Linked DNA regions of Homo sapiens: region 2 is linked to region 1. The links are contacts of gene promoters, found by promoter capture Hi-C in human tissues and cell types (Jung and others, 2019). All regions are on one chromosome and are shown on one strand. Each heading gives the region's core, a stretch centred on a gene start or on the middle of the fragment in contact. The rest is flanking DNA. Distances are from core to core; before and after follow the strand shown.

Region 1 (4,233 bases), core at 519-3,018:
GTTCCTCTGGGGCCACTGTAGCACCCACAGAACACTTTCTGATACCTGTTGTGTGCCCAGCCCTGTTCTAGGTGCTGGGGTGCTGGCACTAGAATGAAGCAATTGATCAGTTACCAACCAGGGGGTAAGCTAAGAAAAGGCCCTCAGAACCTGCCACGAAGGCTGTTAAGAACATGGAACTTAGGCTGGGCGTGGTGGCTCACACATGTCATCCCAGCACTTTGGGAGGCTGAGGCGGGTGGATCACGAGGTCAGGAGATCGAGACCATCCTGGCAACGTGGTGAAACCCTGTCTCTCCTAAAAACACAAAAATTAGCTGGGTGTAGTGGCACGTGCTTATAGTCTCAGCCACTCAGGAGGCTGAGGAGAATCGCTTGAACCCAGGAGGTGGAGGTTGCAGTGAGCCGAGATTGCACCACTGCACTCCAGCCTGGCAACAGAGCAAGACTCTGTCTAAAAAAAAAAAAAAAAAAAAAAAAAAAAGAACACGGAACTTAAACTCTCTAAGCCTCATTTTCCCCATCTATAAAATGGCAATAATCATAGTACAATGTACAGGTTTTGAGGACTAAACAAGAACTAAAGGCACGAAAGATGCCTTTCAAGTGTTGGTCACCCCAGTGCTTGATACACAGTGAAGGCACACGAAATGCTGGGTGTTATCGTGGGCATGACTGGAGTGCACGGTGGGATGGGCGTGCCAGGGGGAAAGGACACTGTAAACAAGGTGTAGAGGCAGGAAAGCCCAAAACCTGTTCTGTGCTCAGAAAGTAGCCCATGGGACTAAGGAGAAGACATGTTCATGAGGAGTCCTGTCTGGGAAGGAAAGCGAGGCCCTGCCCTCCTGTCTGCACACAGCTTTCTGGGCTTCCATGCAGGCCATCCTGTGGTGACAGACCACTTACTGGGACTTGAAGAGACGAAGAGAAAGGGGTGAGCCTATGATGGGTGCTGCAAAGAGCACTGGAGTGGGAGTCCAGAGACCTGATTCCAGCCAGGCTCTGTCACTAGGGAAGTGTGCACCTTTGAGCAAGCCGCTTCCCCGCTCTGGAAGGTGGCTGTCACCAAAAGCCTGGGCACTGGTAACTTCCACATCCATCATCTCGTAGAGCCTCACAGCAACCTGGGACCTGGGGCGGGAGACTGGAGGGGCAAGCAGGAAGCAGTTGTGTGCACCTGGAAACTCTGCTAATAATAAACTGCACCCCGTCTAAATCCCACAATGCTGTGAGGATGCCATGGGGGCTAGGTGAGCTTGGTCACCTGCTCAGCCCAATAGGGAACCCGATTAGCACCTGTCCTGTTTTACAGGTGAGTTAAATGAGCTCAGGGAGGTGAAGAACCTTGTCCCAGCCACACTGCTGGTAAGCGGTTGGGAGGCGAGATTCCAAAACTGAATTCTTTCCAGCAGACCCCCGCGACTTCTCCAAACACTCCAACTCCTTGCAGCGCTTACACTTCGCGATCTGTCCAGAAGGAAGCTCGGGCTCAGGCTGGAGAACCCGCCAGGGCTTCCTAAAAAGGGCGAGCAGGACCAGGAGTTGGCGCCACTCCGGGCGCGGTGAGGAGGTGCTGCCAGGCTGGGTTGGAGCAGGCAGGTGTTCCGCGGGATCGAGACCCGCCCCGGCAGCACCCCCGGCCCCCTCCCCAGGTCCCCAGCTCCATGTATGCAAATCACTGCTTTGCATGGGCCTGGGGCCAGGCGCGGGGCTCCTGCCAGGGGGCGTGGCCGGCGGCCCCCGCCCCGCGCCGCGTGCTCACCTGGGGAGTGTGGCAATCCTGGCGGCGCCGAGTGTTGCCCGGGCCGGAGCAGCGGAGCGCGCGACAGTGGCGGCGACGGCTCCGGCAGCGGCTCCCGCGGCGGCGGCGGCCGGGAACTGGAGGAAGGAGACCCTGGCTTCGCAGGGGCCCCGGCTGGGGCAGAGGCGAGGGGCCTGGGGGGGCGCTGGCTTTGGCCCCGCCTGGGGCAGGATGGTGAATCTGGAGTCCATGCACACAGGTGAGGGGCGGAGGGAATGAGCTCTGACAGGTGTCACTGCGCGTGGGCAGGGGTGAAGGAGAGGGACAACGTTCTGGTTAGGGAGGGGGGCTTGTTTCCCAGCGGCCAGGAGAGGGCGGTGTGGATAGCGGGTTGTCCTGGGGTGGGTGCCGGTCAGTATTTGGGGACTAAAGGGAGGGGATCTGGGATAAGAAACCCTGGAAAAGAATGAGGGTGGGGGCTGGTGAAGGGCGGGAGGGCTTCGAAGCCCCCGGTCTGGGGAGTGGCAGTTGTATGGGACGTGGGTGTACTGAACTGTCATAGTCTCAGGAGGTTGCAGGGATGGGTGGTTCACTCACTCAGCCAGGGGTGTGGACCTGGGAGTGCATAAGTGAGGGAAATGTGTATGTCCACATGCTGTGTGCTGGTGTCCGGGCATATGTGTGAAATGGAGGCAAAGCGGACATTTAGGTGGTTGGGGGGCTTAGGAGAAGTGGCTGAGGTGGGGCAATTACAGAGGTGCCCCTGGGGCAGGGGCCATGCCCCCATGTGTTTGAGAAGGGATGGTGACAGACACATCCTCTGGGTTCCATGTCCCATGCCTTCCTTCCCTAAGGGGTGGAAACCTAGGAGATGCAAATGCTTTGCCGGGAGTCAGGCTTCCCTGAATGAATGAATGAGAGGTGGGCATGGAGGGAACCCAGCCCCTCCATTCACCTTGCTGTTCCTCCTTCCACAGCTGGGCTAAGGCAGGAGCTGCCAGGCAGCCAGGTTGGGCTTGGCTTGGGGCTTCCTGTTAGGGTGGGCCTTCTGGAGGTCACAGGGCCTGAGCAAAGAACAAGTGAAGAAAGCGGTACCTGACCTGGCCATTTCTAACCTAGCAACTTACTCTCAAAGTGGGCAGGACCCAGTGATCTTTCTTTAGGATTTCGGGGCTGTTGATGGGAATGTTGTTACCTGGTCTCCTTTCTGGGAGAGTAGGGAGGAGGCAATGCTCCAGACCCACCCCAAGAAGCAGAGCAGGCCTGAGGCCTACCCAGCCTGAAAACAAGCGTCAGTGAGTGCCCGGAGGGAGGGGACCTGGAGTGCCCAGTTCCCCAGATGCTGTTTCCTGGCAGGGCTGAGTGAGAGGCAGACTGGCAGTGAGATGTTGGCACTGAGTGGCTCTCCAGGACGTGCCAGAAAGGCTAGGTGAGGCGGAAGAAGCCATCCAACTGGGTGTCATCCAGAGTCTGAGGAAAGTCTGTTTCTAGACTGGGCATACCTGGGGCAGATCCCCGGGTAGGTGCTCTCCCCTTCACTGCCCGCAGAGAAGGCCAGGGTTTGAATGGGAGCAAGTCTCTTCAGAAAGGTGGGCTTAGCAGTGGATGGGAAGTTTTTTAGCACCAAGATCACAGACTTCCTGGGGGTTTTCCACCTCCTTGTCTACTGGAGGCTCCCATTCTGTGGAAGTGGGAGGGGGTGGGACAGTTGGGACCCAGCAGGGAGGCAGCCTGGGGCCTCAGAGGATATAGCAGAGAGCAGAGAACACCAGAGGATGAGGTTGAGGCATAGGGCTTGGCCTCTATGCCTTCCCCAGGAGTGAGCTCCTGGCTGATGCTTCTCAGAAGCCCAGACACCTTCTCCACCCTGTCCCTGTGAGCAGGTATTCCCGACACATGGGGGGAGACTGAGCTAAACCCCAGGTGGGGTGATTCCTCAGGGCGGGATCTCCATGTACCTGGGGGTAGATTGCCCAATTCATCTCTCTCCATTTGCCTGCTCCCTCCCCAGCCCATTCCCCCCTCAGGGCTACCTGGCCTCCCTGTGCAGTTTCTGGGTCTTGGCCCCTCTGTAGTGTCTGAGGGTTCCCCTTCAGTGGCACCTCCAGAGGTCTCTGAGTTTAGGACTTTCTGTCCCATCTCTCTAACTGGGTCTCTATTAGAGGGCTCTCTTTGCTGGGTCCTCCTGGTGGCCTTTACTGTTCAAGATCTTCTTTGTAGGGTCTTCCAGTGCGCACCCTGCTGTGGGGTCTGTGAAGGAGGATCGCTCTTCCCTCTATGGAATATCTCATTATGGGTCCCTCTCTAGGGTCCCTTAGTCCAGGATCCTCTTTTGGAAATGTGGTCTCTTTTGAGTCCCATTTTCCCCCGCCAAGGTAATCCTGTATCCTACTGATCTTGATAAATAGTACTTCTCCTGTGAATTCCCAGGGCTGGGTCCTTGGGGTCTCCTCCTTAATTGACTTACTGGAGGAGTTTGGATGGGGGAAGGA
Region 2 (4,245 bases), core at 547-3,046, 86 kb before region 1:
TTGTAGTGAGCCGAGATCATGCCACTGCACTCCAGCCTGGGTGACAGAGCAAGACCCTGTCTCAAAAATTATATAAATAAATAAATAAATAGAACAAGTTTTTTTTAAGGAAGTCTGATATACTGATTTTTTTTTTCTTTAAGGTTTGTGCTTTCTATGTCCTATCTAAGAAATTTCTATGTTTGCTTCAGTGTGCGGTTGGTATAGATAGAGCTGTTATGCATAACAGGTTATAAAGATTTTAGGTTATAAAGATTTTAAATCTTAGATCCACTATTTCAAGTTAATTGTTGTTTATGATGTGAGATAAGGGCCATTTTTTTTCTTGTATATGGATACCCAATTGTTCCAGCACCATTTGTTGAAAAAACTATCATTTCCCCCGTTGAATTACCTTGGCACCTTTGTGAAAAATCAGTTATCTACATATATATAAATCTATTTCTGGACTCTCTATTCTGTTCAGTGATCTAAATGTTTACTTTATTCCATAATACACTATCTAATTACTACTACTTTGTTGTAAGTCTTAAAAATCAGGTAGTAAGTCCTCCAAGCTTGGTCTTCGTTTTTCATAATTTTTTGTACCTATTATGATCCATGGCATTTCCATATGAACTTTAGGATCAGATTACAAAATTCTTCAAAAATCTGCTCTGATTTTGACTGAGAGTACATTAAATCTGAAGATCAATTTGGGGAGAATTGACAGCTTAACAATAGCAAGTCTTAATAATATCAATACATACCATGAACATGGTATGTTTCTCTATTTATTTAGATCTTCTTTAACTTCTCCCAGCAGTTTTGTAGTTTTTAGTGTACTATACAAATTTTTGCTAATTTACTCTTAACTAGTTCATGTTTTCATGCCATCATAAATGTTATTTTCCATTTAAATTCCAATTGTTAGTTTCTAGTATATAGAAATACAATTAGGCCAGGCACAGTGGCTCACACTTGTAATACTAGCATATTAGGAGGCCAAGGTGGCAACTCCAGCTAGAGGCCAGGAATTTGAGAACAGCCTGGGTAACGTAGCAAGACCCTGTCTCTACAAAAAATTTAAAAATAAAAAAGTCAGTCAGGTGTGGTGGCACAGGCCTGTAGTCACAGCTACGTGGCAGGCTAAGGTGGGAGGATTGCTTAAGCCCAGGAGCTTAAGGCTTCAGTGAGTCATGATTGTGCCACTGCACTCCAGCCTGGGTGACAGACTGAGGCTCCCTCTCAAAAATAATAATAATAATAATTAATTTTTGTGTATTGAACCCATATCCTGCAACATTGCTAAACTCATTTATTAACTGTAGTGTCTTAGCTTGCTTGTGGATTTCCTAAGATTTTCTAGAGAGAAAATTATATTGTTTATAAATAAAAACAATTTTGAATCTTCTCATCTGTGCCTTTTTTCTTTTTCTTGAATTCTTGCACTGGCTAGGACCTCCAGTACACTGTCGAATAGAAATAGTTATAACAGACTTACTTGCTTTGTTCCTAATCTGAGAGGAAAAACATCCCATTTTTCACTACTAAGTATAATGTCAATTGTAGGGTATTTTTAAATAGATGCCCTTTTCCAGATTGTGTAAGTTCCCTTGTATCCCTAATTTGCTAAGATTTTATCATGAATCTTGATAAATTTGTCTTGTTGAATTTTGTCAAAAGCTTTCCCTGAATCTACTGACATGATCATGTTTTTTTCCTTTTTAGATCTGTTTATATGATACATTCATTTTCTATTGCTGCCGTAACAAGCTTAGTGGCTTAAAACAACACAAATTTATTATCTTATAGTTTTGGAGGTCAGAAGCCCAAAATGGGCTAAAATCAAGATGTTGGCAGGGCTGCATCTTTTCTGAAGGCTCTAGAAGATAACCCGTTTCTTTGCCTTTTCCAGCTTGTAGAGGCTGCACATGTTCCCTGGCTCATGACTTTTTCCATCTTCAAAGCCAGCATTTATATCACTCCAATCTCTGCTTCTGTCATGACACATCTTTTTGTCTGACTCTCCTGCCTCCCTCTTTTAGGTACAAGGATCTTTGTGATTACATTGGGCCCATCCTGATAATCCAGAATAATCTCCCATCTCAAAATCCTTAACAATCATATCTGCAAAATATCTTTTGCTACATAAAGTAGTATATTCACAAGTTCTGTGGATTAGGACATAGATATTATGACTACCACATATGATAAATTATAGATTGACTTTTTAAAAATTGTGGTTAAAAACACATAACACTTACCATTTATCATTTTTGAGTATACAGTTCAGTAGTGTTAACTACATTCACATTGTTGTATAACAGATCTCTAGAAGTTTTTCATCTTGCAAAACTAAAACTCTATACCCATCAAACAACAACTCCCCATTCCCCCTTCCCAACTCGACGAAACCACCATTCTACTTTCTGTTTTCATGACTTTGACTACTTTAAATATCTCATATAAGTGGAATCATACACTATTTGTCCTATTACGACTGCTTATTTTACTCAACAGAGTGTCTCCAAGGTTCATTCAAGTTGTATATAAATTGACTTGTGAAACTAAAAGTAGATCTACCATTCAATCCAGCAACCCTACTACTGGGTAACTACCCAGAGAAAAAGAAGTCATTATACAAAAAAGACACACACATACATGCAGGCATACTCACGCTGATAGCAGCACAATTTACAATTGCAAAGATATGGAATCAATCTAAGTGCCCATAGACCAATGAGTGGATAAAGAAAATGTGATGTGCATACACTGTGGAATGCTACTCAGCCATAAAAAGGAAAGAAATAATGTCTTTTGCAGCAATTTGGATGGAACTGGAAGCCATTATTCTAAGAGAAATGACTCAGGAATGGAAAACCAAATACTGTATATCCTTACTTGTAAGTGGGAGCTAAGCAATGAGGATGCAAAGACATACAGAGTGATATAATGAACTTTGGGGATTTGTGGGTGGGGAGGTTGGGAGCGAGGTGAGGGATAAAAGACTTCATACTGGGTACAGTTACACTGCTCAGGTGATGGGTGCACTAAAATCTCAGAATTCACCACTATAGAATTCATCCATGTAGGTAAAAACCACTTGTACCCCCAAAGCTATTTAAATAAAATAAATAAATAAAGATTTTAAAACTTAAAAAAACTGACTTTTGAATGTTAAGCCAACCTTGAATTCCTAGGATAAATCCCATTTGATCACACTTTGTTATTCTTTGTATATATTGCTGATTTTTTTTCTGCTAAAATTCTGTTTAGAAATGTTTCCTCCCCGTCTCTTTTCTGCAACAGTTTTTGTAGAATTGGTATTTTTTTAAAAATGTTTAGCATCCCAGAAATGGCTTGTACTGGCCCATGACAATGTACTTTCAAATTCTCAGAAATTTTGTAAGCCAGCTGTTAAATACAGCCAGTATTAAAAATTAAATAAATTATGTTAAAAGCAAAAGTAATCCATATGGAATGAATACTTATCATATCTTAAATATTTTGCTACATTTTATTAATATCAATGCTATTAGGATATTTATGACTTTCATTTATATGGTATTATCTTTATATATATTTGTGCATATATATGCACATCTCTTTTTATCTCCATGATGATTGACATCACATTGGTAGCATGAAATTGACCATAGCGGGAATATTTACACTATGGAAAGTGGCAAATGCTACAAAACAGGTTGTTGTTTTTTCTAGAGTGCCAGGTGTAAAACATTTACCAATACACCTGGGGGTAGAATGCACTCGTGAAACCACTTGATCCTGGAGTTTTCTTTATGAAAAAGGTTTCACTTTTTAAAAACTATGAATGTAATTCCTTTAACAGACATAAGATATTCAAATTATTTCTTATTGAATGACCTTCATAGTTTGTGTTTCAAAGATTATGTCCATTTTATCATCTAAGTCACTGAATTTATTGGCATGTAGTTGTTTATAATATCTCCTTAGGTTTTTTTCAATGTTTGTAGGATCTGTAGTGATATCCTTGCTTTCATTCCTGATATTGGTAATTTGTGTCTTTTCTCTTTTTTTCTTGATCAGTCAGGTTAGAGTTTTATCAATTGTATTGATCTTTTCTGTGGTGTAAGAACTAAAATTAAGGTTCAATATTATGTGCTACCTTGACACCTGATGAAAACAGGAGGGCCTCATCTAGCCTAGCCCCAAGTTCCTCATTCCACTCTGCTCCTAACCCCTAGCCAAATCCTCTTAATAAAGAGAACCAGGTGCAGTTAA

The links. The method cuts DNA at HindIII sites, captures the fragments that hold promoters and counts their contacts. A contact is called where the count stands out against the background at its distance.
Region 2: a contact is called between a fragment that was not itself captured here and the fragment with the promoter of POU2F3 in region 1, in 2 of the 25 tissues and cell types used here (dorsolateral prefrontal cortex and hippocampus).

What each region holds. Positions count from the first base shown.
Region 1 is chr11:120,238,372-120,242,604 of GRCh38, forward strand. POU2F3 (POU class 2 homeobox 3) reads left to right here and starts at 1,769. Exons shown (of 13, transcript NM_014352.4): 1 at 1,769-2,000. The coding sequence starts at 1,973. The HindIII fragment of the contact is 19,243 bases long and covers 1-4,233 here.
Region 2 is chr11:120,152,288-120,156,532 of GRCh38, forward strand. No RefSeq gene overlaps it. Among named protein-coding and RNA genes, the nearest start is that of TRIM29, 16 kb to the left of the region's middle. The HindIII fragment of the contact is 4,875 bases long and covers 1-4,234 here.